Regions from separate parts of the Homo sapiens genome. Here all the other regions are linked to region 6. Evidence: promoter capture Hi-C in 16 types of primary human blood cells and fetal thymus (Javierre and others, 2016). All regions are on one chromosome and are shown on one strand. The core of a region is centred on a gene start or on the middle of the fragment in contact, and the rest is flanking DNA. Distances in the headings are between cores, read along the strand shown.

Region 1 (3,181 bases), core at 46-2,545, 430 kb after region 6:
TGGAAAACGTTTGCAGCTATATGCATGAATGAACATCCAGAAAGGTAACATCTGGACTAAAGGTGGGCTCAGCAGGGATGCCCATTGGCCAAATTCAAGAGAAAGCTTTTTAGAAGTTGGAGGAGGTCCAGATGGAATGGTCAGCCTTTGTCCAGGAGTTCCTGGATATGAGGTGTGCTTATTTAACAACCATGCAACTATTTGCCAGGTGTTTGGCAGCACATGGACTACATGGCTATTTAGGTCTTCTTCGGTCCAGTGCAACTTGGGTTCTGTGAAATATTAAGTGTTGTCCATACATAGAAAGTCAGGGGTGAGAGTCTGAAATCAGTGATGGCTTAGTGGCCTCACTCTTGATCAGTGCCAGTTTGTCCTAAGAGTCAGCAGTACATTAGGGCTTTAGACATTACAGAGACAGTGGAATCACCCCAAATTGAATTATGTTGTGGCTCTGTGTCTCTAAATTGATTGGAGTCCAGTCTGCTTGGAGATTAAAATACATCCTATTTTCTCAGCACTGCAGGGCCCAGGTGAATGGTGAGAAGCAGCCAACTGATGGGATAAATGAACTTTGCTTTCATGTTTTCTCACTTATGAGGAAGACCACCCCCTACAGCACACTTGCATAAAAACATGTCCTGAGGGTGGTTGGTCACAGCCTGCTCAGCATTAGACATGCATCAGCTGAAAGAGTGTCAGTCTGCCTCAGGGGCCCTCAATCCCACTCCAGACTAACAATTTCCACCTCCAAGTCGTCGTGGGATGCCAGGAGCCAGGGCTGATCTCCATTTGCACTCATGAGGTTGAGGCTAAGGAAGGGGTGGGGTGTAGACAAAATATACAAGAAAGAATTTGGTGTAGAAGTCACGAACCATTCTGTAAAGTCTCTTAACTGGAAAGCCAGGATGTATCAAGATGTTAACAACTTTTTATTTTAAGTAAGTTCTCTTATTAATTTTTGGTTTTTCTACTCGGCAAGAATATAACTGAAACTTGTTTGAAAGGTTTGGAGGTGGGTGGATGTGTAACTTGCCCAACCTTTTTAAATTAAGGGTGAAGAGAAAGGAAAAGGCTAGCTGTCCTCTTCTTTTCTATGGCATCAGGGCAATGGTTTCTAAGCTGTCTCATCAGAATTGGCAGCAGGCTGCTGGCAGGAGGCGGAGGCTGGCATTCCAGTTCTAAGTAATTCCAGATATTAAGCTTTCAGGTCCAAAGAGGAGCCTCCCAATGGATATCATTTTCTCCTTTAAACAATAATACTAATTGCTACTACTTTTGATAATAATAATAGCTTAGTGCCAAACAATGTGCATACACTATCTTTTTCATTTAACTTGCACAATACCGCTTTGAGATAGTTTTATCCATATTTTACAGATGTGAAGCTTTGAGAGGTTAAACTATGTTATAAATCACTCTAAGTCACAGAAAAATCTTACAGCTTTCAGGACTTGAAATTGGAATGGCCTTCCTAAGCCATCGCTTGGACAGTCTTCAGGGCATGTCAAATGGAGTGCCCTCCCCTTATCTAGCTATGCTGGGCAGAAGCCCGGTTGTTGGTAGTTATCAGACAGGAAGCAAAGCGCAGCCCTCCCATTTCCTTGCTGCGCCCTTTGGTTTTAGGGCGGGAGTGCTGCTTGCTGGGGACGCAGGCGGACTCCAGGCCGCTTTGATGGAGAACACAGGATACGTGCTGCAGGTGCTCTTCTGGACGGAGTCCCAGCTGCTGGGCCATAACCTGGTGGAGGCGAGTGGGGCTGGGCCCCATGGCTGTGAAGAGACCCACCATACAGCGGCCTCAGGATTTTCTGTCTCCATCCGCTCTGATGCTTAGGGTCAGAGGAAAGGCCCTCTCAAGTCCGGCAGGGCCTGCCTCCAGGAGAATAAATGGCTGTTCCTTTCTTCCATCTTTGCAACCAACTCGGGAGTCAGGTGGATGAAAATGGAAACGTCCCTTTCCTAGTAGGAAGAACATGGGTTAAGCCTGCAGTGGGCAGACCAGCACTTCCACCCTTTCACTGATGTGGTTGGGAAGGTGCAGGACAGGAAGCGACTCCCATTGGACAGAGACCAGAACCGGTTTCCATCAGGGTAGGACCCGCCTCTTCCTGTGAAAGAGAGCGGAAGTGGTGGGAGAGAGCGAGAGTAACAACTGAGTGTCCGTCCCATGGAAACATGCATAGCGAGAAACGAACAACAGGCCCAGATTCACATCCGACAATTCCACAGTTCTCTTTAGAAGAAACCCCTCCCCTCATCATATTTTCTAACCTGAGACCCTGGGCCTGTCTGTGCCTCTGTGCATTCACACTAATGTGACATAGGGCATTTTAAAGTGGAACTATGCAATGGTCACTGGATTTTAAACCAACACTGTCAGGTCCATGTTCACTAAGCCACCCTACCCCAATTAAAAAGAAAATACTAACAGAGGGTCTATAGCTTTCATTCAAGGAAGGCTGAGTACTTGTTAAGATCATAGGATGGGCAACCACAATAGGATGAGCAAACAAACAAATGATTATTCATATGATGCTAGGAAGTTAATTAAGGCAGGAAGAAACTAGATAGAAGGGGTAAGACAGTTGGAAGGAGGCTGAATTGTTAAGTTAGTGTGTGATGTCCAGTTGTGTTGGGGGTGCAGGAGGATAATGAGCAAGACAGTGGGACTATGACTACCCGGGGCCCACAACAGACCAGAGATGCCTATAAAAGGACCCTGTGACTCCTGTGGAGTGTTATACACACCAAGTAAACAAGTGATGCGCAATCAAGCCAAATGAACCCAGGCTATAGAACGTTCAGCTTCAGTTGAGTGAACACTATGTTTTGAGGTCTGTTTACAGGTTGTGATTTCACCAAAGTGTTTCCTTTTCTCAATCCAGTTCTTCAATCCAATTCTCAGTTTTTGTTCCACGGTGTGTCGGGCTCTGTGGGAATGGTTTTTGGAAATAAGGTTACTGTATTATTAGCATCCAAGATAAAATCAGTGGGGAGCAAGAATGTCTGCTCTCATTTACTTAACAAGCATTTGCTAAGAATCTTTGATGTCACAATGATGTAAGAGGTACAGAAAGGTGTTAGGGAGTTCTTGCCCTTGGAGAGATTATAATCTAGAAAGGGAAAATGTACATAAAAATCTCTAATGCAAGACAAGACATGCATGCACCTATCGTGGTTC
Region 2 (3,201 bases), core at 685-3,184, 410 kb after region 6:
CTGTGAACCTGCAACTGGAGAATGAACGTCGTGATGGCTGAGGGGGAAGAGCTTTTGCATCACTAACTTTCAGAGCTGAACGAGCTCCAGAGGGAGGTCACTGGGAATCTGACGATATCCCTGTGGTCAGTGGGTACCTGACTACTTTCAGAAAGGTGATTGTTGACTGTTTCTTTGAAGGTCCTTGGGGATACAGACCCAAATCCCTGTCTCCTCCACTCTTGGTTTGCTGTGCCATGATCTTCATTTCCATACCCTTTGTCTAATCCCACATCCGAGGGAACCGAACTCTGGTCAGCGTTATTGTGCTGACCATGAAGCAAGCCAGGCTCCTAGGTAACAACTCTACTTAGACCAGAATCTGTCTCTTCTCTGCATGGTGGCCGTTTCATTATAGAGTCCCTGATAGAGGAGACAGTGGTGTTCAGGGTTTACTGGTTAAATTAGACAGCATTCCGCACCCTTTCTGCAGAGACTCCTACACATGTGTGTTGTCCTGCTGCATCCACCTTCCCAGCACTTCCTCACCACCCTTCCCTCCTTCCCTTCCCACTGTGAGTCACCCATCCCTGGGTTACTGCCCCAACCTACCTTTTCTTTTCTTTTATCTTCTTTTCTCTTCTTTTTTTTTTTTTTTTTTTTTTGAGATGGAGTCTCACTCTGTTGCCAGGCTGAAGTGCAGTGGTGCAATCTCGGCTCACCACAACCTCTGCCTCCCGAGTTCAAGTGATTCTTCTGCCTCAGCCTCCCGAGTAGCTGGGGCTACAGGCGCATGCCATCATGCCCAGCTAATTTTTGTATTTTTAGTAGAGATAGGGTTTCACCATATTGGTCAGGATGGTCTTGATCTCTTGACCTCGTGATCCGCCCACCTCTGCCTCCCAAAGTGCTGGGATTACAGGCGTGAACCACCATGCCCAGCCCCCAATCTACCTTTTCTTCTGTTCATGGCCCACCTTCCCAAGTGGATCATTTATTCCAGAGCCCCCTGACTGCTTCCCTGTCAGGTCAGTCTCGCTGCTGCTGTGTCAGTTCAGTCTCCCTGCACAATTGGCCGAGGCCGTTCACTGACCTCACAGGGGACCACATGTGAACATGCCCTGCCACCACCACTACCTGCCATTTGTCCAAACCTCATCCCTTTTCCTTGCATGCCCGTACCTAGTATTTTCCCACGTTTTCCTGATTCAAGATTTACCTTCTTTCACAACCCCTTTGTTGAATTAGCATTGAGACAGTCTTCTCTACTCTCATAAAGTATCAACCCATAGGCATATCATTTTACATTCTGTGGTTTTATGATTTTTTAAATATATATATATTTTATTATACTTTATTTTATGATGTTTCACGTGTTTCTCACGTTGTTGCAGTTACTACGACCAGAATCCCTTTCTGTACCTCCTCTACAAACACCCTTCTTTTTTGCTGAATCCACTTCTTTTGGAGCCATAGCCCTTTGAGGTCTCAGGGGAAAAAGTGGCAAAAACAGATCCACAGAATCTTGCAAGCCCCTATTAACTACACAGTGCACCACCCTGCCTGTCCTCTTAGGAGCAGGTCATGCAAAAGCTCAGTTCTATCCCAAGGATGATGTTCTGCAACCCCATCCTTTCCTCTTCCATCCCCATGACAACCCATATATTATGATATGCCTCTGGGGTGTTATCAAAAGAGATTAGAGAGTTAAGCCTGCAAATGCAGCCTTTGCTTCTACTTTGAAGCTGCTGCTCTTCAGGGGTTTCTTGGAATCTTAAATTATTCCTCCATTGGAGCTCACAGCCTAGTGCTTTTCAGCACAGCTAGGCATAGTGAGACAATACAACTACTGCATAGCATCTCTCAGTTAGGTGTTATGTAAAGCCTGTATCTTAGCAAATGGCTAAAATTGCATTCTTTGCTTCCGCTTAGTTCTTATATAACCACAGGGATATGCAAACCTAGGCAAGAAGGGAATGCAAAATGTTTCCAAAACTCCATGCTCAAACTTTGATGTAGAATTTTAAGAAGATCTGGAGGAAAATAGAGAGCAACTTAATTATGTTAAGGTTGACTCAAACTTTTTTTTTCATTTCACAGACACTTCTAGATTGGTTCTTAGCAGCAGCTCTTGCTCTTCCTAATTTGTGTTCCCCATTAGCATCTAATTTCAAGAGCAGGCAAATCTCATCTGTTCCCATCCAGCCCAGCCAGGGAACCTCCAGAGTTGCTTTGCAGATATGGTGTGGATCCTGCAGAATGAGGATGAGCTCTTCCACGATCCACATTCTTGCCCTTTAAAAAATAAAGCGGGTAGGCAGCGGGGTGGCGGTGTGGGGTGTGTGGGGCAAGAGCTAGAGCGTTCCTCCTCAGTGAGTTTGATGAAGGGAGAATGTAAAACTTGGCTGAACTTAGCCCTCCAGGAAAGGGTAGCCAGAATGTTGTATTAATTTAGTGATGTCTTCAAAAGGGTGTGGTGGAGGAGGAGTCTCATTCAGAATGAGAAGCTGATCCCAGCTCCCAGGAAATCGACACAGTTGCTGGTGTGTAGTGGTCAGCACTAGCCGAGTCCCTATTTGTAGCTTCATGCTGTTTTTTATACTGTTGTGATGTAATGTACATCTGTGTTCACCCAAGCTGCCTATGCAATGACTTCTATAAAGCTCAGTTTTTAAACACAGTCTCTTACAGATAAAACAACAGAACCAGTGCCAGAAAGCAGCCTTCCCTTACATGGGCACTTCTGCCAAGCATATGAGTTCATTGCCTTGAAGATCAAAGTCAAAGAGAAATGGAGAGGGTGTTGAAATGATCAGCGAAAATTAAATGTAAAATATATTCTTATTGGAAGTCTGATGCTCTATTATCAATAAAGGACACATAGCAAAGATACATAGAGGAGTGATTTTTCAAGCAGTCAAGAGCAGAACTACGAAGGTTTTGAGATGGTGTAGCTGCCAAAGAAGTCACCCCTGGCTGTCCCCCATCTCAGTGAGCCTGAGTTGAATGTTTCCCAATGTCATATCCCACAGGGGGATACTTAGTGCCCACAGCATGTGATCGGTAGCCGATAAGGAAGCATTGGACCAGAATGTCATGGAAGAAAACAAAAGCCCACTTATCTTCCGCGGCAATATGTTTATGAACATGTGAATCATTGTTCATATAACTGTCTCAAATACTTGGCTGAAAAGTAGACTGTTTGGTGTTAAGTTTCGACTT
Region 3 (3,184 bases), core at 521-3,020, 380 kb before region 6:
TGTTATTTGCTTTCTGAGTTTTGGGGTCATTTCATTGCTTATCAATGAAGGGCAGACAGAGGAGAGAATATCTCAAGTCTTTTCTGATAAAAGGCTTGCTTGAGGGAGCTTATAACTTGCACCTAGAGGGTTTACCCACTTTGTGGATTTGATTTATCCACCAACCACAGCAACCAATAATGTCAAGATTCTAGGAGTTTATGAAAGAGGCTAGTATGTTTTCATTTTGAGTCAGACATTCTTTTCTCATTCTCAAATCTGTTTTAAATGCTCCAATTTTAAAAATGCCAATGAAAATTTTATAATGCTTCTGTAGTAACCATATGCAGTTTACTTTGAATTTAGGAAAACAGTTTTGTATGATGAAATATTGTGCAGAATCTGTAAATAAGGTAGCTTAAAAATTAAAAAAAAGTCTAATTAGAATATGATTAATCCTTGAAATGTAGAAACTAGAGATTGTGTTGAGTCAGAACTGTTATGTTTGTATCCAGGTTTCTATTCACCACATATACCATCTTAGAATACACACATATCTGTGAGTTATAATTTAAAGTGGTCATCCAGGGAAATGATCATGGAGTGCTACTACAGATGTACAGTTTTACACTACTGATGTGTTCTTGCCATACCCAAGTAGGGAATCACTTCCAGGAAAACAAGTCCTCAAGCACTCAATGACTTTGTAAACCCATGACTGAAACAAGACTCATCTGAGGCAGTAGGACTGGTGGGATTCTACTGACTTCTTAGTATCACATGGCACCATCACAAATGCATTGTTAGAGCAGCAACATCCAGAGTTCTTAAGCTTGTACCCTAACACACAAATTTGACTTCTAACCCTGAAATATCCTATATATATTTCTAAAACTGTTTGTAGTTTTCTTGAGAAAAAGCACTTTATAATTTACTCAGTTTTCAGTAATAAAATTAACACTGACTTGAATGTATTTAAAAAAATTCTCCACAGTTTTGTCTTCCTCAGATTGTTTTTATCCTTATTCTCTGAAATTCCTGTTTTATTGTCTAAGACTTAAGAGATTCAGCTTTATCAAGTTAGAGTACAGTGTAATTCAAATTCTCCCTCCCTTGGGCATAGTTACTGAAGTTCAAATTTCCTTAAGTATTTTTTAAAAACCTGATTTTAGTTTTTTTTTTCCTGCAGAATCTTAACTTTTCCATTATTCTGGATGACAAATAAACATTTATTAAAATGTGTTAGAATTAGTATTTACTAGGTTCCTAAATTGTCAGTATAGGTACTTTGATCACACATCAAAATGGAATTTCTGCAACTTAAAGCATTTTGTTACAAATTGTAGTTGAAATAGAATTTTATCTATTTGTCTGGATGAATAGGTTGTTGGGAATGAACCAGTTATCTGTTCTTTTCTTCCAAATGCAAATGGTGCAGCTAGTTGATAATAGTATATTCTCATCCTACTATAAAGTGCAAATTTCACCTTAATTTTGCATATTTTAAAATTTTTGTTTACCCTTTGTAGCATATTTACATTTTAGCATTTGCTAACATTGATTTAATGTGTTAAAGATTCATTTTGGATATAGGGTTGACTTGTTGGAGATACTAGTTCATAATTTTAAAATTCCCAAGAGAAGTGTCTTTGAAGTGGTAAACACAGTGCACTTTAAGCCACTTCTCTTCCCACAGAGTCCAGCTGAAGGAGGTAAGGGCATGCTGCATGAGAGTAATGCCGTGATGAGTGTCTTACTCTGGTAAAATGCCATTTACAATGCCTGGAGACTGAACACTGAACAAAACATAGTGCCCTTAGAATTTCACTGGAAAAACATGTGAATCACATAAGTTAGTTGGCAAAAGGAACTGATGTGTATGTGGTGGGGTTGCTTTGAATAAAGTATTTCCTAACCTATTCTGGGGAGAACGCTCAACTGATCTTAGAGAAGTGTGAAATCAGTTTCATAGACTTAGGGAAAAATCTGAAGTGCTTGCACTGTGAGGGCAGAGGCCTGCCTCATTAGTCTAGCTGTATGAACATGTCAGTCCACAGAAGCAGTTTTTACCTGTACTCATCTGCCCTTCAGTCAGCTTTGTGACAGAAGGGCAAACATCTTCACAGAAGAAAAAGTTCAGAAGGTTGGCATTGGTGGTTTCATTGCTACAGAATAATAGTGTTACTTGATAGTATCTGACTAAAAGAGCTCTCATTTTCTAGTACTTAGTAGTAAAAAGAATGTGGTGGAGTCCTCCAGATGTCTAGTGTGGGTGGAGGATATCAACTGGTTATTTCAGTGATCTACAGCCTTACCTTTTGAATGCTAAATGTCTGGAAACTTCAGGCAGGGTCCTACAAAACAAACTGCCATCAAGATTGGTGTGTACCATGAAGGCAGTTTTAGATAGTTTGACTGTTCATGGCTGCAAGAAAGACCTAAAATTCAAGGGCCCGTGAACTTCAGATACGTAAAAGGAATATCACTTCTGTTCTAGAAGAGTACTAATTAGACTTGTTTGTGAAATTTGAAAATTTGGCTTTGAGACACTGGTAACAAACATATCTGAGCCCTCCTAAGTTTGGTCAGCACGGAGTAGTAGCTCTGGCATCATGTGGCTGTGTAGAGCTCCAGTGTGATTTCAAGCCCCCTCTAAAAACTGCCTTAGTCTGCATGAAGTAGTTAACTCTCCAAAGTGCTTTTTGTCTGGCAAATCCCTTCACAATTTTCACCTCTCGTCTAAAAGCTTCCTTAAAGGAAGCCTTCCTTGATCCCTTAGGCTAGGTTAGGTTTCCAGTCTGTGTTCTCATAGCACTCTGCACTTTTTGGTTCCTTAAAGCAACTCTGTGTTATTTTTTAGAATTTTAATCTGAATCTCGTGTGTCACATACCTAGGTCAGAAAATACTGGAACAATGAAGTTAAGATTTAGTAATTCAAATTATGTAAAATGCTCATATATATGTTTTTAGATTAGCAGCTTTATGATGCCGATGCTGAAGGAACTTTTCACCCCATTCTTACAAGTCTGCTACTGTTTTAAGTGACATCCTTATAGTTGTAGATAAGCAAATGTAAGGTTATATCAATGTGAAGAAGCCCTTAGTATCACATTTTAAAATTTATCATTTAGCAATATGACTTTTAAATTTATTGTTTCCGAATGAGTGTTGTTGAGGAATGTTAGCAGTAGTAAAATCTTGTGT
Region 4 (3,211 bases), core at 200-2,699, 400 kb before region 6:
AGCAAGACTCCAGGTAGCTCATGTGTTGAATAATTGTAAAAAGTCATATTTAAAGTAAAATACTTGTTTGATCTTACAACATTTTTTGGTGTCTACAATCAGTGACATTTAACTGTTTTGCTTTAACTGCATTTCCCTGTCATTACTTAATATTAGACTCCTCCTGCATTACTGCCTCTGGTCTCAATTTGAGAACTCTTTCTTGGATTCAGGATCCACACTGCTTGCTGGATCAGTTTAACGTTCAAGGCTAACGTTTCCAAGCTTGGATTTTTGTCAAAGTCACCATTTGTAAGACTGTTTTTTTTCAGCGACAAAATAAATTTCATTCAAGTCTTCCCTGCGCCCCTCAAATACATGTTTGAGGACACATACCATACAGTTCACCATTGAAAGCTTATAGTTCAGTGGTTTTTGGTATAGTACATTGTCAGTTGTTCAAAACTATGGTTAACTATATATAACATAACATTTGCCATTTTAGCCATTTTTATGAGTACAATTCAGTGGCATCGTTTATAATCTTTCTAAAACCTTTTCATCATTCCACACAGAAGCTCTGTAACCATCAAGCAGTAATTTCCCCTCACCCCCAGTCCTTGGAAACCTCTAACTTTCGGTGTCTGAATTTGCCTGTCCTAGATAATTTCATATAAAAATTGAGATCTTACCATATTTGTCCTTTGTGTCCAGCTTATTTATTTCACTTAGTGTAATGCCTTAAAGGCTTATGCATGTTGTAGCATGTATCAGAACTTTATTCCATTTTATGGCTGAATAATATTAAAGTGTGTGGTTATACCATATCTTATTCATTCATCTATCGATGGCCAGCTCGGCTGTTTCTATTTCTTGACCATTACGAGTAATGCTGCAGCAAATTTTGGAATACACGTATCTCTCAGAAACCCTGCTCAATTCCCTTGGGTATAGACCTAAGAGTAGAATTGCTGGGTCATGGGATAATTCATGTTTACCTTTTCCAGGAACCACTACACTGTTTTCCATATTGGCTGCACCTTTTTACATTCCCGCTGGCAGTGTATAAAAGCCACAGTTTGTTCACATCCTTGCCAACACTTGTTGTTTTTGGAGTTTTGTTTGTGTGTGTGTGTGTGTGTGTGTGTGTGTGTGTTTTCTTTTTTTTCTTTTTTTTTTTTGAGCCTGTCTCACTCTGTTGCCCAGGCTGGAGAGCAGTGGTGAGATCTTGGCTCACTGCAACCTCCAACTCCTGAGCAATTTGCCTGCTTCAGCCTCCCGGGTAGCTGGGACTACAGGCTTGCGCCACCATGCCCGGCTAATTATTGTATTTTTAGTAGAGATGGGGTTTCACCATATTGGCCAAGCTAGTCTTGAACCCTTGACCTCAAGTGATCTGCCTGCCTCGGCCTCCCAAAGTACTGGGATTATAGGCATGAGCCACTGTGCCTGGCAGAATAAAATTTATATATATGAAATACTGAAAATAACTGTCAAAGATCATTTCAGATTAAGTATAACAAATTTCACATTCATTTGTGAGCATATATATATGTATATGAGAAGCATGTAAGAAATTCGTATATCTCACATACTTTTTAAAAAAGTTTTCTGGTATTGGAGTGTCTTCGCCATCCACTGCCATGCACAAGAATTATATTTAAGTTTTGAGCATTAGACTTTTGCACTTATTTTCAGGAAAAGTCGTGGAGGAGGATAGAGTAGTTCTGTACATACATAGCTGTATCCAAAAGTATTTAAGATTTGATGTTATTTAATTGTAAACATTGTTAAAACAAATCTTTCATATGCATTAACGTTCTAGGTTATACTTTCTGCTACTGGATGCAAGGTATTTTTGTTTCATTTTTAGAATTAGGTGGCATTGAAAACAGATTGCAGACAGAGATGGGTATATAAAAGTGCTTTTGTTCCCTTGCCCCAAAGAAAGACAGCGCTTTTGTAGCCTAAATAGCAGCCTTAAAACCATTCAACTTCCCATCTAACTTTGGGAGAAGGGTATATTTTGGGGTTTGTACATACAGATGTTAGAATAGGCAAAAACAGTTGAGATTCACTGACATATAGACACAAGTCCTGAATATAGATGCTTGACTTCAAACTACTTTCTTATCATCTGAGAGGTATGTATTTGATACTTCTTACTTCCAGATGTCATTAAGGGAAGGGGGTTGGAAACAGAAGAAGTGGGTGACAGCCATTACCTATAAGCAGTGATATAATACATTGCAAGGGATCTCAATGATTACAATTATTTCTTAAGTACTTTTAAGGCTATTTTGTAATTCTACTTTGTTTTTATATCCTTGCAGATTTATAGTATGACCTTGAGATTATCTGCCTTATTTGAAGAAAAAATGAAGAAAATCTCTTCTGATTTTAAAATTGGTCAAAAATTCAATGAAAAACTTCGAAGAAGCCAGAGGTTCAAGCAACGGCAAAATTGTAAAGGTGACAGTCAGCCTAACAAAAGTATCAGGTAAACTGGTTATGGCAAGCTTGCTTTATTTATTTATTTAATTTTGGAGAGAGTCTCACTGTGTCACCCAGGCTGGAGTGCAGTGGCATGATCTCTGCCTCCCGGGTTCAAGTGATTTTCCTGCCTCAGCCTCCCAAGTAGCTGGGACTACAGGCGCACACCATCACATCTGGCTAATTTTTGTATGTTTAGAAGAGACAGGGTTTCACCATGTTGGCCACGCTGGTCTCGAACTCCTGACCGCAGGTGATCCACCCACCTTGGCCTCCCACAATGTTGGGATTACAGGTGTGAGCCACCACGCCCAGCCTATTTATTTATTTTTTATTTATTTTTGGAGACGGAGTCTCTCTCTGTTACCTAGGTTGGAGTGCAGTGGCATGATCTTGGCTGACTGCAACCTCTGCCTCCCGGGTCAAGCAGTTCTCCTGCCTCAGCCTCCTGAGTAGTTGGGACTACAGGTACATGCTGCCATGCCTGGCTAATTTTTTGTATTTTAGTAGAGACAGGGTTTCACCGTGTTGCCCAGGCTGGTCTCGAACTCCTGAGCTCAGGCAATCCGCCTGCCTCAGCCTCCTAAAGTGCTAGGATTGCAGGTGTGAGCCACCGCGCTCAGCCCTATTTATTTTTTAAGACAGGGTTTCACTATGTTGCCCAGGCTGGGGTCTAGTGATATGATCATGACCACTGCAGCTGCAACTTTCTGGTCTCAAGCAGTCCCTCTCACCTCAG
Region 5 (3,334 bases), core at 798-3,297, 430 kb before region 6:
TTCATTTAATAACATCCCTATTTATTTGTGTACACTGTGCTGATTTCAAGCAGGTAGTCATTGTTTAAAGATGTTAAGTCTTTGTATTTATCTATTGCTGTATATAACAAACCACCCTAAAATTTAGGTGTTTACATGGCAAACGTTGCATATTTCATGTATTGGTTGATCAGGAACTGGGAGCTGATTTGACTGGGTGATTTTGGCTCATGAGGTTACAACATGTTGACTGGGGCTGCAGTCATCTGAGGACTTGATGAGGGTTGGATGATATTCTTTCCGAGCTTATTCATATGGCTTTTGGCCTCAGTTCCTTGCCACACAGGTCTCTCCTTAGCTGGCTGCTTGAGTGTTGATTTTCAACTCAAGCTGGCTGCTTGAGTTATGATTTTCCTCAGAGTGAATGATTTAACAGTAGCCAGGGATAAGCCCCCATTTATGACCTAGTCTTAGAAGTTGCACATAGTCTCATCGGCTTTATTATATTTGGTAGAAGTGAGTCATTAAGTGTAGTCCACACTTAAGAGGAGGAGACTTCCACTTCTTGAAAAGGAGAGAACTATTGGGGAATTTGTAGGCATATTTTGAAATCACCGGTCTTACAACCTAAAATCAAGAGGAGACTCCTTGTGATGATTAGCCTGTGGCCAAACTCAGAGTGGAGTCTTGGCAGAACAGGCTATGGGTAAAAGAGGATTTAGGCTGGGTATTAGCCCCCTAAAATGGGATGTAAAATAGCATGAAGAATCTATCAGAAATTTAGGAGATGATGCTAGGAAAATGTTAGGTAGATTTACAATGCTTTTTTAAGTGATATATTCCTGTGTAAAGGAACTAAATATATATGCTGTGTGAAAACTAATCATTAGATGGACATGGCAAAAATAGTCATTCTGAATGGTGAAAGTTTCTTTTATTTTTCATTCAGACAGTGCATGCTGCCCCTTTCTAATCTAAGAAACTTTGTTCTCTTCCCCTTGGTAGAATTTGCGGAGGATGACTCCAGCAGAGCTTGCAAATATGGAGCATTTATATGAATTTCACCCTCCAGTTTGGATTACTGACACCACACTTAGAAAATCTCCTTTTGTTCCTCAAATGGGTGATGAGGTGAGAGTAATACAAATTTAAAAACACGAATATGGAACATAAAGTTTATATTGCTCTTAATTTTTAAATGCATATTTCCCTTTTGTAGGTAATATATTTTCGACAGGGTCATGAAGCTTATATTGAGGCTGTAAGAAGAAATAATATTTATGAACTGAACCCTAATAAGGAGCCATGGAGAAAAATGGATCTTAGGGTAGGATGATGGCATTATTAAATCATTAAACATTTTAGCACATACATAGTTAAATTACTTACAAATCTATTTAAAAACCTGTTGGAAACATATTTTATTACTTTCTTTCCTACTTGATAACATTTCTGCTGTAACCAAACCTTAAGATCCTGTGGGAATGGCTTGTTTGTCAGTGGGCAAAATTTGTATGTTGCTGATTGGTGTGTAAAATGTTAAATGCAACAACCTAGAGTTTCAGAAAGGCAGCTTGGCAATATATATATTATCACTCTTAAAAATGTTTATGTATCCAAGACAGATTTTCAGAGGAAGAAATGCAAGTTTTCAAAAGAAGAAATAAAAACTGGAAGAAGGGTTTAACCTCATGGATAATAAAATAAGGAAATAATAATTTTTCCTTTTCAATACTTAGCCAATTTTGTGATTTCGTTTGTTTTTAGCTCAAGAAAGAATTCCACATTTTAGCAAGTGGCAAAGATGTTGGTTTGTTAACAGTTATTCAGATTGCTGGTGGGGTGTGTGAAGTGGTCCAGGCTTTCTAGGGGATATTTTGTTAATAGTAGTTGAAACTGAAAAATATTTGGAACTTTTAATTCTGTGATTTTACTCTTCTGGTAATTTGGAAAACAAGCAGAAATGCTTGTAAATATATGAGTATTGTAGTTCACTCACTGTTGACAGAAACAAAGCTGGAAAAAAAAAATTCAGATATTCCACAATAGTGAATGAACCAAATCATGGTGCATTCACACAGTCACTTACTATGTACAGCCCATCTTGTACTTGAAGGTTGAAAAATATTTGTTGAATGAATGATGGATACATTTTCACAGTGTATTACTAATAGGAAAAATGGGGTGTGAAGTGGTATTTCTGGTTATGGTAGCAAAATTTTGAAAACATTTGCAGCCAATCAAAAGAACAACATCAAAATGTCAATGGTGATGATCTGTGGGGTAGTAGTACACGTGTTTTTTTATTTTTTATATTTTTATTCTACAGATTTTGATACTTTTAAAAACTTAGAAAATGAAGAAAATGCTAGTTATTTTAACAAATATAGCTGTTTTTAACACTTATATTCAACTTAATGGCTCTGCTTGTATAAGTTAGGCTTTATATACATTGGCGGTTTTATTTATGTCTGTTTAACTTAGGACTGTGTACCTAAGTACAGTCCATCCTCATTATTCTTGGATTCTGTATTTGTGAACTGCGTACTTGCTTTATTTGTAATCCCCCAAACAGTACTCTCAGAGCCTTTTGGTCATTTCTGGACATGCTCAGGGTGGTGAAAAATTTGACTTGCCTGACGAGCATGTTTCTAGTTGAGGTTGAACAAGGTGTTGCTCTGCCTTTTTTTTTTTTTAAGCTCTCGCACTGCAAACAAGTGTCCTTTTCATGGTCTATTCAGTGCCACATGTTTTCCATTTTTGTGCTTTTTCTGGTGACTTTGCTGTTTAAAATGGCCCCTAAGCGTAGTGCTGACATGCTCTCTAGTGTTCTTAAGTGCTAGAAGGCTGAGATGTGCCTTATGGAGAAGGTATGTTAGATAAGCTTCATTCAGGTATCAGTTAAATGTTTGCAAATCAACAACATATTAAATAAGGTACCTTTAAACGGAAACACGCATAAAACCAAGTTACGTATGCACTGGTTTACTACAGTGTTGTGACCAGAATTTTGCAGGAACCTATCCCTATATATTCTCTATAGCACTGATTTAGTATTTTATTTCAGTGTTCTAGGTGACTATAGAACATAACTGCTGTGAATAATGAAAACTATGCTTAGCACTTTGTTTGGTACATTATAATAATAACATTTGTTCAGTGAATAAGTGGATGAATGATCTGTTGTATTCCTAGTATCAGAGAAGCAGACACTGGGGGGAAGGTTGACTATGGCAAATCCATTTGATGGATACTCCATCCAGGTAGGGACTTTCACTTGTTTACCGTCCTGTCCCTACTGCCTAGAAGAGGTCATAGCATATGGTAGATTCTCAACAAATATTACTTACTGAAT
Region 6 (3,087 bases), core at 304-2,803:
ATCAATTTCAAGTTTGGTGTTGCTGATGGATCGCTGCTTTTAAACCAAAAAAAAAAAAAAAAAAGGATAAAGAGCAGAAATGTAACAGCTGAGAATGGTTACATTTAAAAACAAGGAGAATTTGCCTGACAACAGTACCCTTATTGGAACAAGTAATCACTTATGTAAGATTATTTAGATAAATTTGAAAACAAACAAAAAAAAGAAACAACACAACCTTGTAACACACATTTGAAGGTAGTTTGCTTTTTTCGCTTTGAAAGCGATCAGTTTAGAGAGATGAATGACTAATCCCAGAAATGAGTATCTGAGCATTTCCCTGCGGATGGTCGGTGCTAACATTTACTGTGCTGCGCTACTACTCAGAATTTTAATAAAGCTTAACGTGGAGATTTATCTCTCTGATTGGTGGTGGTGTGGGCAGGCAGATAACGCACAGGCGCTTCCATTGTATGGAACAAATATAATCTCTTACTGGCGAATTAAAATAAATTACTCCTGTCTCCAAAGGGGACTGCTCATTTCTTTACTTTCTAAATAACTAGCGCGTCAACTACTGTTTTAGGCTACCCTGAAATTGTGTACAGGCTAACATAAAAGGTCTCCTGCCGTAAAAAATAAAATAGGATAACACACACGCAACCCAAACACACACAAGCAAACACTCAGTTACCTCTTCATTCAAATGCTGTAGGAACGAGAAAATAAAGGCAGCCCAGCGCAACCAGATCTCATTTCCGACAGGTTCCCCACGCTCTCCTCGCACGACCGAGGGGTCCCCAGCCCGGGCCCTGGACGCGGCGAGCAGGTGACCATGGCACCCCGCGCCCCGCAGGTTCCCGCGGTGCCGCAGCCTTCAGGTGTCTTGGGCGCCCCAGATCCTCCGGGCCCGGCGCCGCTCCAGGAAGTCACCCTCAAAGCCGGGGCGCCAGGCCACCTCGGACACGCTCTCCTGTGCCCCCACTCCCGTTCGCGAAATCATGTTCGCCGGGACATCCACTGGGCAGGACCCCCTACCAGGCCTGCGTTTCCTTTTAAAAACAAAAGCGAGCGAAACAAGCCAGCGCGCCCTGGCCGCGCCCGCCGCTAGGCGACCCCGAAGACAGCGGCCCTAGCACGCAGGAACCCCCCGGCCGACCCCGCCAGCCCCGGAGGCCACTCCATAACCGGAAAACGAGCCGGCGCGGAACTCAGACGCGCGCCCCTAGAGTCCTCGCAGCAGCCGCCACCCCCACCTGCACCCCCGGCAGCGCCCCGAGATCTGCGTGTCAGTGCCCCCCGCGACCCCCGCCCAGGCCCCGGGTGACCCTCCATGGGACTGGAGCCGCGCGCCGGGCGCTCTCTGCGGGCCCAGCTCTTACCCTGCCGCTGCGGGCAGGGCCGGCGCTTGGTCGGGACGGTGGCTGCTCGGCGCCCGCGGCTGCTCGGTGCGCGCCGGGCGAGGGCGAGGGCGCCGGCCAGAGACGATCAGGGAGGCCGGACGCTGGCCGGGCGGCTCCGGGAGCTCTGAGCTGGAGCGACACCGCACTCGTCAGTCTCTGGAGGAAGTAACCGGGCCGTCCCCCACGCGGCGCGCTCTTCAGGAGCGGGAGGAGGAGGGAGGAGGGAGGAGGAAGGAGGGACGGCCGAGTGGAGGGGAGGGGAGGAAACGAGGGAGGAGAGAAGAGAGAGGGGAGGGAAGGGGAGGAGAGAGAAGAGGAGGGGAAGGGAGGTAGGCAGGATGGGGAGAAGCGGGAGGAGAGGGAAGGGGGCAGCAGGAGGGTTGGGGGAGCGGAGGGAGAGGAGAGGGAACGCACGAGGGGAGAGAAGAGGAGGGCGGAGGCGGCGAGGGAGCGCGGGGCGGGGCTGACACCTTCCGGCCCAACCTTCCCTCCGCCTCCTGCTGTCACTCGGCTGGGTCCCTCGCCGGCTGGCCCTGAGGCCCCGGGAGCAGGGCCTCGGCCCCACGTGCGCGCGAGTGTGCGCCCTGGGAGCCGGGCGGAGACTTTCCGTGGAGCGCTCGGCGTCCTCTCTGGGGCCAAGGCCCTAACGCCAAACCTGCCTTTGGAATTCCGCAGCGACGGAGCAGTGGTGCTGGTGGCACCGAAGGGCAGCCGGGCTTGGGTAATAAGGCCCTGAAATTGAGCCGACCCCATTCTTGAACCTCTGAATGGGCTTAGGACTAATGATCATTCTATCACAAAAAGGCTCCAAATGAGGCGCTTCCTGTAGAAACCGGGCCCTGGCTGTGTCCCCGAGTCGTGGTGCTGATCGCGCTGCTCCCGGGAAGCCCCGATCCCGCAGGCTCCGCGGGAGTGGCGCCCTCTGGAGCTGAGCGGTGCCCAGATAGCGACCCGCCTTGGCCGCGCTTCAATCTGGGCTGGGCACTCCACGCACATCATCGTCACTCTCGGAGGACTTGCGGCTCCCACTTTACACAGGTGGGAACTGAACCTTAGGATGAATAACCTGCCACGTCAGATTGATGAGAAATTCAAGGTGGAAACCTGAGTTTATCTGACTCCGAAACCCTGGTCAAAACCACCCCCTACACTGTGGTTTCCGTTTTTATCAGAAGGTGCTTGAGTCCATGGCTGTTTGGACTCAGGTCACATGCTCAATATTTTGCAGGAAAGTTTAGATTCCTGAAGTTGTGGATGAAATAGGAAACCCCAGCTTAGGCGAGGCCACGGGGCTGAAAGCTGCTCACATCTCAAGAACTGCGGCACCACCGGGAAGGGAGAGGAATGGCCCAGCTTCTCTGTGACTCAGGGTTCTAGGTTTCCATGGTGACTCTAGGTCTAGAGTTATCCGGATAATTGAGATATCGGTGCACCTTAATGTTTCTGGGTCCCCGAAGGTCTCCGGGTATCACCGTGGCATGAGTCACAGTCAGAATCTATACGGCTGAAACAATCACGTATAGGGGAAGTGATTATTTCTTGGAGACTGAATTGATTCTGATGGCTTCTCAGTGTATATTCAGGCCCAGATTAGAGAACACAGATAGGTCAAGAAAGAGTTCCATAAATGGAATACAGATCCATAGTAAGTTACCATGGAGACATGAGTATGTTACTATTTTTTTAAAAAACCGTAGCAGAAAAT
Region 7 (3,223 bases), core at 593-3,092, 360 kb before region 6:
TTGACGCTGAGATTGTATTTAGCAATATAAGTTTCCCCCTGTTTTTGTAGTTGTTTGTTTTTTGAGAAAGGGTCTTGCTCTGTCGCCCAGGCTGGAGTACAGTGGGGCAAACATGGCTCACTGCAGCCTTGACCGCTCAGGCTCAAGCAGTCCTCTCACCTCAGACCCCCAAGTAGCTGGGACCACAGGTGCATGCCACCACACCCGGCTAATTTTTGTATTTTTCAGAGAGACAGGATTTCATTATGTTGTCCAGGCTGGTCTTAAACTCCTGAGCTGAAGCGATCCACCTACCTCAGCCTTTCGAAGTGCCGGTATTACAGGCATGAACCACTGTGACCAGCACTCCCTGTTTTTGTTTTTTGGCTTATGAATTTTTCTGTTTATTATGAAAATGTAAGAGTGAGATGTTAATACATTTCAATTTAGTTCTGTAATATCAGGAATTTTTCAAAAAATTAAAAGGTGCATTGGAGCTTTTTCTTTGTGGGTAGAAACTGGATGCCACAGTGAACAACAAAAAAAGGATGCGAAGATTAATTTATTATTGGAGAGCAAATTTTTAAAAAATAAATTTAGTGTAGCCTGTGTACAGTGTTGATAAAGTCTACCGTAGTGGACAGTAATAACCTAGGCCTTCACGTTCGCTCACTGACTCACCCTGAGTGACTTCTAGTCCTGCAAGCTGCATTTATGGTAAGTGCCCTATATAGGTGTGCCGGTTTTTGTCTTTTATACCTTATGTTTACTGTATCTTTTTAATGATAAGATATGTTTAAATATGCAAATATTCACCATTGTGTTACAGTTGCCTACAATATTCAGTACAGTAACATGCTGTACATGTTTATAGACTAGGTGTGTAGTAGGCTATAGAATCTAGGTTTGTGTAAGTACACTATGATGTTTATGCAATGACAGACTCATCTAGCGATACATTTTTCAGGCTGGTAAGCAAAACATGATTGTATATCTATATAGATACCAGGGAAATTGGCTTACTTGATTATGGAGGCTGAAAAGTCCCACAACAGGCTCTCTGCAAGCTGGAGACCCTGGGATGCTGGTAGTATGGCCCAGTGCAAGTCCAGAAGCCTCAGAACCAGGGAAGCTGATGGTGTAAGTCTCAATCCTAGGCCAAAGGCCTGAGGGCCTGGGGTAATTGGGGAGGGGCACTGGTGTCAGTCTTGGAGTCCAAAGGCTGGAGAGCCTGGAGTTGTGATGTCCTGTTCAAGGGCAGAAGAAGGGTGACCCAGCTCCAGGAGAGAGAGAGAATTCACCATTTCTTCATCTTTTTCTACCTGGGCCCCCAGTGGATGGATGGTTCCTGCTGACATTGAGGGAGAATCTTCCCACTCACTCCACAGACTCATGCTAAACTCTTCTCAAAACACCTTCACACAGACACCCAGAAATCATGCTTTACCAACTCTCTATGCATCCCTTTGTCAACATGGTACTAAACTCAAGCAGGAATGGCTGTACTTACATAAAACAGACTTTATGCCAGAAGCAGTAAACAGTTATTATATAATAGTAAAGAGATCAATCTAATGAGGAAATAACAACTAAATATATGCACCCAACACTAGACCACCCGGATTTATAAAGCAAATATTTCTAGATTTAAAAAGAGAGGTAGACTCCAACACGATAATTGTTGGGGACTTCACCTCAGTCTCAGATCATGATCATCTAGACAAAATTAACAAAAACTCATTGGATTTAAACTAGACTTTAGACCAAATGGATCTAACAGATATTTGTAGAACATGTTACTCAACAACTGCTGAGTACACATTTTTCTCATCAGCACATGGAACATTCTCCAGGATAGACCATATGTTAGGACAAAAAACAAGTCTTGACAAATTTTTAAAAATTGAAATCATATGAAGTATCTTCTCAGACCACAATGGAGTAAAAATAGAAATAAGAGGAACTTTGGAAACTATACAAATACATGGGAATTAAATAATATGCTCCTCCTGAATGATAAAAATTAATATGGAAATAAAATGTTTGAAACAAATGAAAATAGAAACAACATACCAAGACCTATGGGACACAACAAAAGGAGCTCTAGGAGGGGAGAGTGTATAGCAATAAACACCTACATCAAATGAGTAGATAGATATCAAAGAAACAATTCAATGATGCACCTCAAGGAACTAGAAAAGAACAAACCAAACCCAAAATTAGAAGGAAAGACATAGTAAAGTTCAGAGCAAATCTAAATGAAATAAAGACTAAAGACGTAGAAAGGGTCAATGAAACAAAAAGTTGGTTCTTCAAAAAGATAAAATAGATAAACCCCTTGCTAGACTAAACAAGAAAAGACCCAAATAAAATAGGAAATGAAAAAGACATTACAACTGATATCACAGAAATACAAAAGATCATCAGAGACTATTATGAATAGCTATATACTACCAAACTAGAAAACCTAGAGGAAATGGATAAATTGCTGGAAACATACAACTACTGAGATTCCAGAAGAAATAGAAAATCTGAACAGATCAGTAATGAGCAGTGTGATTAACTCAGTAATGAGAACCCTCCCAAAAAAAGAAAAGCTCATGACTGAATGAATTCACTGCCAATTTGACCAACCACATAAAGAAGAACTAATACCCATTCTCCTCAAACTCTTGCAAAAAAATCAAAGAAAAAACAACTCATTCTACAAGACCACCATTTCCCTGACACCAAACTAGACAAGGACACACACACAAAAAGAGAACTACAGGCCAGTGTTTCTAAGGAACCTAGACATAAAAATTCTCAAAAAGAACAAAACAAAAAGCTAGCAAACAATTCGACAGGATGCCAAAAAGATAATACACCATGACCAAGTATAATTTATACCAAGGACACAAGGATGGTTTAACATACACAAATCAATAAACATGATACATCACAACAGTAGAAGGAATGACAAAAACCATATGATTATCTCAACAGATGCAGAAAAAACATTTGATAAAATTCTACATCCTTTTATGATAAAAAGCTGTCAACAAACCAGGTACAGAAGAAACATATCTTAACATAATAAAGGCTATATATGACCCACAGCTAACATCATACTGAGTGGGGAAAAACTGAAAGTATTTCCTCTAAGAACTAGAGCAAGACAAGGAAGGATGCTCACTTTTACCACTTTTATTCAGTATAGTACTGGAGGTAGAGCCAGAGCAATCAGGCAAGAGAAAGGAATAAA

What was found. Contacts are between HindIII fragments. The CHiCAGO score rates a contact against its expected background, and 5 or more counts as called.
Region 1: a fragment that was not itself captured here is called in contact with the fragment with the promoter of ETS2 in region 6 in 1 of 17 cell types (megakaryocytes); the score reaches 9.5 in megakaryocytes.
Region 2: a contact is called between a fragment that was not itself captured here and the fragment with the promoter of ETS2 in region 6, in 1 of 17 cell types (megakaryocytes). The highest score is 6.4, in megakaryocytes.
Region 3: a contact is called between a fragment that was not itself captured here and the fragment with the promoter of ETS2 in region 6, in 5 of 17 cell types (activated CD4 T cells, non-activated CD4 T cells, naive CD4 T cells and 2 more). The highest score is 7.9, in activated CD4 T cells.
Region 4: a contact is called between a fragment that was not itself captured here and the fragment with the promoter of ETS2 in region 6, in 4 of 17 cell types (naive CD8 T cells, total CD8 T cells, activated CD4 T cells and 1 more). The highest score is 6.8, in naive CD8 T cells.
Region 5: a fragment that was not itself captured here is called in contact with the fragment with the promoter of ETS2 in region 6 in 1 of 17 cell types (naive CD4 T cells); the score reaches 5.0 in naive CD4 T cells.
Region 7: a fragment that was not itself captured here is called in contact with the fragment with the promoter of ETS2 in region 6 in 16 of 17 cell types (M1 macrophages, M2 macrophages, megakaryocytes and 13 more); the score reaches 13.0 in M1 macrophages.

The regions. Positions count from the first base shown.
Region 1 is chr21:38,375,327-38,378,507 of GRCh38, reverse strand. It overlaps a transcript of ERG not described here. Among named protein-coding and RNA genes, the nearest start is that of LINC01423, 31 kb to the right of the region's middle. The HindIII fragment of the contact is 185 bases long and covers 1,203-1,387 here.
Region 2 is chr21:38,395,040-38,398,240 of GRCh38, reverse strand. The region is part of intron 6 of ERG (ETS transcription factor ERG); the gene reads left to right. Among named protein-coding and RNA genes, the nearest start is that of LINC01423, 51 kb to the right of the region's middle. The HindIII fragment of the contact is 5,452 bases long and covers 1-3,201 here.
Region 3 is chr21:39,187,461-39,190,644 of GRCh38, reverse strand. It overlaps BRWD1 (bromodomain and WD repeat domain containing 1), which reads left to right. Exons shown (of 41, transcript NM_033656.4): 41 at 1-3,184. Among named protein-coding and RNA genes, the nearest start is that of PSMG1, 5.6 kb to the right of the region's middle. RefSeq lists an enhancer at 1,741-1,790. The HindIII fragment of the contact is 1,914 bases long and covers 814-2,727 here.
Region 4 is chr21:39,205,376-39,208,586 of GRCh38, reverse strand. BRWD1 (bromodomain and WD repeat domain containing 1) reads left to right here. Exons shown (of 41, transcript NM_033656.4): 37 at 2,313-2,479. Among named protein-coding and RNA genes, the nearest start is that of PSMG1, 24 kb to the right of the region's middle. The HindIII fragment of the contact is 2,102 bases long and covers 399-2,500 here.
Region 5 is chr21:39,230,149-39,233,482 of GRCh38, reverse strand. BRWD1 (bromodomain and WD repeat domain containing 1) reads left to right here. Exons shown (of 41, transcript NM_033656.4): 24 at 985-1,110; 25 at 1,199-1,306. Among named protein-coding and RNA genes, the nearest start is that of PSMG1, 48 kb to the right of the region's middle. The HindIII fragment of the contact is 1,637 bases long and covers 1,229-2,865 here.
Region 6 is chr21:38,804,395-38,807,481 of GRCh38, reverse strand. It overlaps ETS2 (ETS proto-oncogene 2, transcription factor), which reads right to left and starts at 1,553. Exons shown (of 10, transcript NM_005239.6): 1 at 1,362-1,553. RefSeq lists silencers at 831-930, 951-1,050, 1,161-1,450, 1,641-1,710, 1,731-2,060 and enhancers at 2,171-2,330, 2,341-2,400, 2,581-2,720, 2,254-2,754. The HindIII fragment of the contact is 4,522 bases long and covers 382-3,087 here.
Region 7 is chr21:39,167,573-39,170,795 of GRCh38, reverse strand. It overlaps the pseudogene PCBP2P1. Among named protein-coding and RNA genes, the nearest start is that of PSMG1, 14 kb to the left of the region's middle. The HindIII fragment of the contact is 7,118 bases long and covers 1-3,223 here.